3 separate regions of the Homo sapiens genome follow, and all the other regions are linked to region 3. The links are contacts of gene promoters, found by promoter capture Hi-C in blood cells and fetal thymus (Javierre and others, 2016). All regions are on one chromosome and are shown on one strand. Each heading gives the region's core, a stretch centred on a gene start or on the middle of the fragment in contact. The rest is flanking DNA. Distances are from core to core; before and after follow the strand shown. Region 1 overlaps TMEM131L (transmembrane 131 like). Region 2 overlaps TMEM131L (transmembrane 131 like). Region 3 holds the start of TMEM131L (transmembrane 131 like).

The links. Contacts are between HindIII fragments. The CHiCAGO score rates a contact against its expected background, and 5 or more counts as called.
Region 1: a fragment that was not itself captured here is called in contact with the fragment with the promoter of TMEM131L in region 3 in 10 of 17 cell types (activated CD4 T cells, naive CD4 T cells, total CD8 T cells and 7 more); the score reaches 15.8 in activated CD4 T cells.
Region 2: a fragment that was not itself captured here is called in contact with the fragment with the promoter of TMEM131L in region 3 in 7 of 17 cell types (activated CD4 T cells, naive CD8 T cells, naive CD4 T cells and 4 more); the score reaches 11.9 in activated CD4 T cells.

The regions. Positions count from the first base shown.
Region 1 is chr4:153,516,813-153,519,832 of GRCh38, forward strand. All of the region lies in intron 3 of TMEM131L (transmembrane 131 like), which reads left to right. Among named protein-coding and RNA genes, the nearest start is that of TMEM131L, 52 kb to the left of the region's middle. The HindIII fragment of the contact is 829 bases long and covers 842-1,670 here.
Region 2 is chr4:153,499,416-153,502,605 of GRCh38, forward strand. All of the region lies in intron 3 of TMEM131L (transmembrane 131 like), which reads left to right. Among named protein-coding and RNA genes, the nearest start is that of TMEM131L, 35 kb to the left of the region's middle. The HindIII fragment of the contact is 983 bases long and covers 1,324-2,306 here.
Region 3 is chr4:153,464,585-153,467,621 of GRCh38, forward strand. TMEM131L (transmembrane 131 like) reads left to right here and starts at 1,776. Exons shown (of 35, transcript NM_001131007.2): 1 at 1,776-1,937; 2 at 2,627-2,697. The coding sequence starts at 1,814. RefSeq lists enhancers at 1,237-1,416, 2,787-3,037, 2,947-3,036 and silencers at 1,457-1,606, 1,647-1,746, 2,117-2,476. The HindIII fragment of the contact is 8,794 bases long and covers 1-3,037 here.

The sequences.
Region 1 (3,020 bases), core at 6-2,505, 52 kb after region 3:
AATTTTATTTATTTATTATTATTATTCTTTTGAGACGGAGTCTTGCTCCGTCACTTAGGCTGGAGTGCAGTGGGGGCGATCTTGGCTCACTGCAACCTCCGCATCCCGGGTTCCAACGATTCTCCTGCCTCAGGCTCCTGAGTAGCTGGGATTACAGGTGCGCGCCACCATGCCTGGCTAATTTTTGTATTTTTAGTAGAGATGGGGTTTCACCGTGTTGGCCAGGCTGGTCTCAAACTCCTGACCTCATGATCCACCCACCTCGGCCTCCCGGAGTGCTGGGATTACAGGCGTGAGCCACCACGCCTGGCCAGCTCATCTTTTAAATTTTAATCTAAGAGGTCCAAATTGGTATTATATACTTCTTTTAGTTTGCATGTACTTATGAAGATGAAGTTGGTTGAAGTTTCCTTTGTTTCCACCATTGGACTTATTTGCTATGCCTGGAGATCACTTCCTGTGCCGCCTCCAGACCTCTGCTGGGACATCCCTTAATCTAGGAAGCATTTCCCACCTCTTCCCTCAACTGCACAGGCACAGACATGTTCTCTCATCCTCCCTTGCACGGGTCCTTTACAAGGCCCTGGGCGGGTTCCTAGGAATGTTTTTACATGACTGTGTTTTTTATTAAGTCTTCAGAAGTAATATATAGTGTGTATTTTTTTTTCCTTTAAAATACTCCACTTTGCCCTCTCACATAAGTTTCAGAGCTCCATAAAACCTGGATCTGCCCTGCCTGGGACATTAGGTGTCGAATGTAATGCTGAATTGAATGGAACCCACTGAGTATATTGCTCCTTAGCGCTCTTAATGTTTAGGTCAGGAGCCTTTTGTTCAAGGAAGCTTGGTTACCAGTGAGTGGGCTCCTGAAAACTATGGTAGCAGTGAAAGAAAGACTCTTGGAAAATGGTTATGATTAATCTTGTGTGCAGTGTCTGTGTATATGCAGTCATGTGTTCCCAAACCTTATTAACAAGATGAAATACCTATTTTAGTACACACTTGATTTTCTGGATAACCCAATGGTGGTAGTAGGCACCCAAATAGCCTCTCTCCTAACTCTTTGGTTCACCTTGTTTAAAGCCTTTAGACTGAGTAAGAATCTTTTGGACCCTGTTTTTTTGGCTTGAAAATTTGCCCAATTTGAGTGGTGGGTGATATATTTACTAGTTTTCTTTATTCCTTGAACTTACGATGAGTGTGTGTTTTATAATGGGGTGAAAAAAAAAACAGTAACCTTTTTGTTGAACAGACAGAAAATTTCCAACTTGCTTTTAGTGAGAGCTGAGACCTGACAATGGGAGTGAACATGCCGGGCTTGATTCCAGCCAGGTTCCTGTTTAGAATTGAGGCCGAGGTCAGTCAGCAGGTGCTTGCGTTCTCACACAGTCCTTGGAACCAAGCATGCTGTGCACTGTGATTGTAGGACTGAACACTTGCACATTAAAAACTCCTCCTCATTTCCCGAGCACTTCTTGTGGGATGCTGCTGCGCATTTCGAAAGACAGTGTTTTTGCTATAATAGAAAGCTGTGTCCACCAGGGGTAGAAGGGAACACACGAGAGCAGGTCCAGAGAGAAAAAAGAATCAGAAGAGGCTGAACCTAGTATTGAGGCCTATGAAAATAAGATGCAGACATCATACTTGAGAAACTGTTAATGGAATAGAAAAGCTTGAAAACATAGTGAATACATTCAATTTTTTGGTCTCAGCACAAAATCACTGGAGAGAAAAATGTACGTAACAAGTGTGATGTGTTTGGTGCTACAGGGAAGGGATATAGAATAGTGATACTCTTAAGCATCATAGAAGCGATGGGAACATCAGGCCAATTACTGAGAAATTTCCTATTGACTGAAATCATGTGTGACAGTTTCAGAAATAATGATAGGCTCTCGTATATGTTGGTACGAGTTTACTGTAAAAATCAATAGCCCGACTTGGTGCTCAGGCTCTGTTTTCTCCTTCGGTGATATCGAAACTGACTTTCAGCCCTTTCATTGCACTTGTGACTCCGGGGGACACGTGCTGATTTCCTGGTTCTATCCTAACGGTGCCTGCCCTTTTCTGTTTACTCCATGTCAGTGCAGGCATTGATAAGAATTCTAGTCGGTGGGGTGGTGAAGACATCAAGAGACCTTAACCTGGGGTTTCCTTGCTGTATCTTAAACTTTTGACCACCATTCTTACATTTGCTGTGATCAGTTTGTAGTCTTTATGTGTAATACTTTTTCTCCCCACCTTCCTGGGGGGAAAATTCCACATGTAAAGGATTTGTCAAATTGGTGATAAGACCAAACAGCCTTAGGGGACATGAGAAGTCTTATGAGCATTGTAGACCTGCTGGTGAGCTAGGGGGTGTAGGCTGTGTGGGGTACTTTCTGTTCTTTACTTAGAGATTTGGTAGGGAAAGTTCTCTGGAATTTCAGCAGTTGTTCTGATGTCATGTGTAAATATTATCTTTCTGTGTTGCAGCTTGGGGCCAAGCTTTTCATGGAAACTGCTGAAAATTATTTAGTGGCATAGTAGTTGTTTTTGAAGTTGAAGACTTTATACCCAAATCCAGATGGACGAATCTTTCACTTTCTTGCTACAGATTTTGTGAAGAAGTGTTACTCAAACTTTAGGTGACATTAACACCATAAGTGTGTTAGGGGAAGAGCTGGGATAAAGGGATGGAGATGCTTTGAGCTGCTACAGTAGTTTGCACATTCTTACCTGTCTGACTCTATTTGCCATCACATATAGAATGTGGAGAATGACCAAGCAATCTTAAACTTTAATAATTGGGTTTACATAGGAAGGAAACAACAGGCAAATCTAATTGTAAAGCAGAGACATGCATTTAGTACATAGATAATTGGACCAATTTCAGAGACAGAAATGAAGGAAAAATGAGCCCCACAGGCTTGAGGGTCAAGCTAGGCTGTAAGACAGAAATTCACTCTGCATTTCTAGGAAGATGGCTTGTGGCTTTTACACAGGAGGACTCTGAAGAACCTGCTATATCAAGTGTCAGT
Region 2 (3,190 bases), core at 565-3,064, 35 kb after region 3:
ATAGATCTTTATGATTTTTTTTTTTTTTTTTGAGATGCGTCTCGCTCTGTTGCCAGGCTGGAGTGCAGTGGCACAATCTCAGCTCACTACAACCTCTGCCTCCTGGGTTCAAGTGATTCTCCTGCCTCAGCCTCCCAAGTAGCTGGGACTACAGGCACGCGCCACCATGCCCGGCTAATTTTTGTATTTTTAGTAGAGAGGGGATTTCACCATGTTGGCCAGGATGGTCTCAATCTCTTGACCTCGTGATCTGTCCACCTTGGCCTCCCAAAATGCTAGGATTACAGGCGTGAACCGCCGTGCCCAGCCCCTTATGACATTCTTACCCTGATTGGTTATTCAGCTTCAGCTTGAGCACTTCACGTGATGGGAAGTTCACCTTTGAAACTGACTTTCCATTTTTGAGCCTCTCTCATTGTAAAGATGTTCTCTGATTTTGACTTCACATTTGCTCTCTTTAGTCTTCCACCGTCAGATCCCAGTCTCACAGACTTGAGACAGTTATCACATCTCTTCTCTAGGTTGGTTTTACCTAAATTTTTTTTTTTAACTCGCCCAGGCTAAATTATTCCTCATGTTTTTCAGTCAGTCCTAATGTTAACTTGGTCAGAACCAACCTTCCTTCCTCCCTTCCTCCCTTCCGTTCCCTTCCGTTCCCTTCCCTCTGTCCCATCCCTCCCTCCCTTCTTTCTTTTTGCAAGAGTAGATAGGGTCTCACTCTCTTACCCAGGCTGGAGTGCAATGGTACAATCATGGCTCACTGCAGCCTCAAACTCCTGGGCTCAAGCAGTCATCCTGCCTCAGCCTCCCATATAGCTAGGACCACAGGCTTATGCCTCCCCACCCCCAGCTAATTTTTATATATTCCTTTGTAGAGACAGGGTTTCTTTATGTTGCCCAGGCTGATCTTGAACTCCTTGGGCTCGAGTAATCCTCCAGCCTCAGCCTCCCAAAGTGCTGGGATTACAGGCGTGAGCCACCACACCCATCCCAGAACTTTTTTAGTTTAAATTTTGCCAATAGTGGATAGAGTGATTCTGTTGAGATCTGAATGGTGCCCTATGTAGTGAATCCATTTCTTTTTTGGTCTGGACTCTACTTATTTTAATGAAGCCCAAGATTTCATTAGCACTTCTAGTAGCAGTGTCTTTCTACTTGGATCGTGTTATTTTATGGCCAAACAAGATCAAACACAAACAAAAACCTTTGGGTCCGTCATCTTCTTTTTATTTTAATGGGAACTGCTAACTTCTCTTTCTCAATATACACTTAAGTAATGAATTGCCTTCTTTAAAATACAAATATTTACATTTGGCCTTGTTAAGCTTTATCTGGATGATTTAGAACTATCTTAGCCTATTGAGACCAAAGAAACACACACGCTCACACACGCGTGCATGCACACACACACAGGCATGTGCACTTTTTTCCTAGTTGTGAAAATCGATGGAATGACTACATGGCTTAGTCTCCTCTTTCTCCAGAGACGCCGTTTAATGATCAGATAGAAATTTAAAAGGTTAATAAAAACCTATAGTGAAGAAATGCTATCAGTTGATAATAGAGTTAAAAAAAAATTCTGGAAGATAGAAAGTGGATAACTGATAGAATATGGTAACTGATGAAAGTGGAAGATTAACAGGGTACGCCAAGTACCCTGCACAGTGGATTTAGAGAATCCCACCAAGCATATTGTGAAATTTTAGAATAGCAAGAATAATGACCATACTGGATGCTTAACTAAAGAAGTGGGACTTATAATGCCCACCTCACAGGGGTTTTGCAAGTTTTTTTTTTTTTTTTTTTTTGAGACGGAGTCTCGCTCTGTCACCCAGGCTGGAGTGCAGTGGCGCGATCTTGGCTCACTGCAACCTCTGCCTCGGGTTCAAGCAATTCTGCCTCAGCCTCCTGAGTAGCTGGGACTACAGGCGCGTGCCACCACACCCGGCTAATTTTTTGTATTTTTAGGAGAGACAGGGTTTCACCGTGTTAGCCAGGATGGTCTCGATCGCTTGACCTCATGATCCGCCTGCCTCGGCCTCCCAAAGTGCTGGGATTACAGGTATGGGCCACTGTGCCCAGCTGAGTTTTGCAAGTATTAATGTAAATAATGTGAGTAAAGCCTCTACTGTATTTTCTGGCACATGGTAAGGAGTCTCAGGGTATGTGTGCAGGTGTTGTATTACTTCTTGCCATCACTTTTCTTACCATCATCACTGTCACTGCTATGGTGGTGAAGAAGCATATCAGTTAGGATTAGGACCAGTTTCATGAGACAGAAAACCCAGTAACATAAATGAGATAGAAGCTTTCCTCTATACTGCTTATCTGAGAGAGCAGAGGGCAGGCCAGGACTGAGGTGACAGCTTCATAATCATCAAGGCCATGCCTCCTCTGTCTCCTAATCCAAGGTGACTGCCCAACCCGCAGGATCATCTTCATTTCCCCTCCAGGATGGAGGAAGGAGCTAGAGTAGGATTTCCCCTCTACCTTTTCCAGGTCACTTCCTGGAAGTATCCCCCAAAGGGTTTTTTTTTTTTTTTTTTTTTTTAAATGGAGACAGAGTCTTGCTGTTACCCAGGCTGGAGTGCAGTGGCATGATCACGGCTCACTGCAACCTTAACATTCAGGGCTCAAGTGATCCTTCCACCTCAGACTCACAAGTAGCTGGGACCACAGGTGCCCGCCACCATGCCTGGCTAATTTTTTGTAGAGATGAGTTTTCACCGTGCTTCCCGGGCCGGTCTCCAACACCTGGGCTCAAGCAGTCCTCCCACCTTGTCCTCCCAAAGTGCTGGGATTACAGGTGTGAACCACCGCGGCTGTCCCAAACTTGTATATACATCTCATTTCCAGAACTTAGTCATATGGTTGCATCTCAGCTGCAAGTGGTAGACTGGGAAGAGGAGTCTTTTCTGCAGCCATGTGCCTGTTTCAAAATGTCTTCTTAAGGAGGACAGGAAAACAGCTACTGGGTTTGGCAGCTAGCATTCTCTTTGTCACAGTGAACCTTATTAGTATACTCAATCCTAGGCTTCTGTAAGGTATCATTTATTCTGACTCTTTGGGAGTTAACACGAAGGATCATTGATATATTAACTTGTGCGTTGGTTGAAAAATGAATTATGTGTAAACTAATCATTAAACCATAGAAGCTTTTCAAATGGCTGAATGTGCATTGAAATGGCTT
Region 3 (3,037 bases), core at 526-3,025:
AACCGGTTAGGCTGTTAATGTTTGCTTGCTTTCCTTTATACGTATTATACTCATATGAGGACTTAAAATTACATTCTGTAAATAAATAGGCCCATGAGAGAACTTTCATTTAGAAGCAAACTTTGAAGGTGCAGTTACTGCTTAAGTGGGCTGTGCAAATATTCCTGTCACTGGAGGTCCCTTTAACTGCGTGGGGGACCTTCAGAATCCAAGGGGCAAATAGAAACTTGGAGAAGTGAAGAGAAAAAAAGGGCACATTGAGATGGCACTGGAGATCCTTGCTAAATAAAGGAAGATGTTGGCAAGGAATACAGAAAAAAGTATGAAACAGAGACTACTGGAGGTATTCAAGTTGGAAAATGCAAAGTGTCCCTTTTTTTTTTTCACATCAACAACTTACGTTTATGCTAATCTACTTAAATGTTAAGTCTGGCCAAGCAATTAGACTATTTAACCTTGTTTGGAGTTAAATGCAGACAGTGTGTGAGACTGTGTTCACAGTACTGTATTACGTCTTTAGGAAAGAGGATCTAGATTTCATTTTGTCCTTCTCAGGATTGTGTCTGCTATGCAAGCACTGGTTTTCTATAGTCTGGCTTGTAAGGCACAAGGAGCAATTAAACAGAGGATTAAGGTAAACAGGTGTGTCCCATCACTTCCCCTCTTCATACTATATTGTTCATATTCTCTGAATTTCATACAAGCTACAGTGGAAGCAGTAAGTTAACTTTAAAAAATCATAAGATTGCCCATACTTCTAGGTTATGCAAATTGATTTCTGAATAAGCCCTTGTTTGCGACATCGCTGGTAAAGGCAGGATGTTAACTTAAAGAGATGCCAGATTTTGGACTTGTTAGTTATAGGCATCAAAACCTGGAACTAGGAAATGTATTTCCACGTATTACTTCCATTATCCTACTAATGTTAGAAACAGGCAACTAACCACATCCTCGACCCCAACCATATTTCAGGAGAGGCTGGCTGAATTTTGCAATATGATTCCAAAAGGGAGTATTTGCAGGGTCTTTGAAGCTATAAATCCCCTAGGAAGAGTCTTCCCCACCTGTCAGGACCTGGACAGTGTCCACAGAGGGTGCCGGGCGCACTACCGCCACGCGGCGCTGAGGTCTGCCTCTCGGGTTTTGGGAGAGCTCTTTTTATTCTAAATTACAGACTTTGCAGCCACCGGATATCCTCGCTGCATAACTGGCAGTGGCCATGTGGCTGCACTCGCGTTTCCTGACAACCACTGCATTATTTCCACTAATATCCTGTGTCCAAGGCCTCTCGCTTGGCGACTCCTCGTTCCCACCTCCACCGCCACCTCTTCCCTCGAGGGTAATCTCTCGACCGTGGCCCAAGCGCCTCGACAAAGCGGCAACCACCCAAAAGTTCATGAAAATGCACTTGGCAAAAGTGGGCCGCTAGTCCCCGCGGACAGCTCTAAGCGACCCCGTCCCAGCCGAGGAAAGCGCCCGGGCCCCGCAGAGTGCGCGCTGCGGGGCGGGCCCGCGGCCATGTGCTCCGCGCCGGGGCGGGGCACCCGCGGGTTCGCATTGTCCACTTTCCCCCGCACCCCGCCGCGTTCCGTCCCTCCCTATCTGCGGCGCACACGCGCTCAGAGCAAGCGGCGCGCCCGGGTCTGGAGCTGCAGCAGCTGCGGCAGCGGCGGGGGTGGTGCGGCGCGGGGCGGGGCGGGGCGGGGCGGGGCGGGGCGGGGCGGCACGGGGGCGGGCCCGGGGCGAGGCAGCTGGGGCGCCAGCGAGCTAGCGGCGAGCGCGGCGAGCAACGGAGAGGAGCGCGAGCAGCAGCATGGCGGGGCTCCGACGCCCGCAGCCCGGCTGCTACTGCCGCACCGCGGCGGCCGTGAACCTCCTGCTGGGCGTCTTCCAGGTCCTGCTGCCCTGCTGTCGCCCGGGAGGGGCTCAGGGACAAGGTCAGCCTTGCGCCGCTGGGCTCGCTCTGCCTCTCCACCCCGCCCCCGCTCTTTCTTTTAGGGAACTGCTGAAATCTATAAGAGGGCGAGGGGAGGAAAGGGAAAGGGGCAGGAGGAGGAAGGAAAGCTGTTGCGATTCTCCGCTGATAACATTTTCTGACCACAGCGTCCCGTCCCGCGCCTCTCTGCCCCGTACAGCTGGAGAGCGGGGCAGTCGCGGGGCTTGGGGACCGCTAGCCGCTCGCGCCCTGGAGCCTTTGTGCGCGGGCCCCTGCGCCCCGGGCGCAGCCCCCGCTTTGTGTGGCGCGCGCGGGTGCCCCGCAGCGGCCCGGCTTCCTGCAGCTTTGTTCCCCCGAGCCTGGCCGCCCAGGGTCCACACTCCAGATGCTCGGGCTGCGGAGCCCGGAGTGCCTCGTGGGGTGTCTTCACTCCCACTTCGTCCCCCCACCCCCAGCACGAGCACCCCGAGCCTGCCTGCACGCTGTCGCCTTCGCGTCCGAGGGGCCGCCGGCTCACACCCCACCCATTGTATTTTTATCCTTGGCTCGCCCCTGGGATGGCCTCTGTTCCCAGGAGGAAAAAGAGACGTGTTTTGGTGAGGCGGGGGGCACGGAGGGACGGTAGGGGAAACAGGAAGCGTTTCTTTAGCGTGCATTAAAAACGTGGTGTATTTTTTGGTGTTCCTGCAGCGATTGAGCCGTTGCCGAACGTGGTGGAGCTGTGGCAGGCAGAAGAAGGGGAACTCCTGCTGCCCACTCAGGTGAGGACGACCAGGTGACAGGGCGGCTGTGGGTGTACGAGGGAGGAGAGGCGGGGAGGCCCCCGGTCCTCCCCACCCCCTGTCCAAGCGGCACAGGCGTTCGGGCCACTTTGCAAGGCAAATAAACGTTAGGGGCCGAGCCTGAACACCTGGCAACGGTGGCCTTCCCGGCTCCTCCCACGCCATGTGACAGGGCCTGAGGCAGGCCGGCCCCAAGTTCAGAAGGTGGGAACCCAGGCCACCTCAGCAGGGAAGCGGCCAGCGGTCTGTTCGGCCGTGGGTGTCCTGGGTGCACACTGTTCCCTAAGTGAGCTGGTGCTGTGTGGATGGCAAGTGGCTA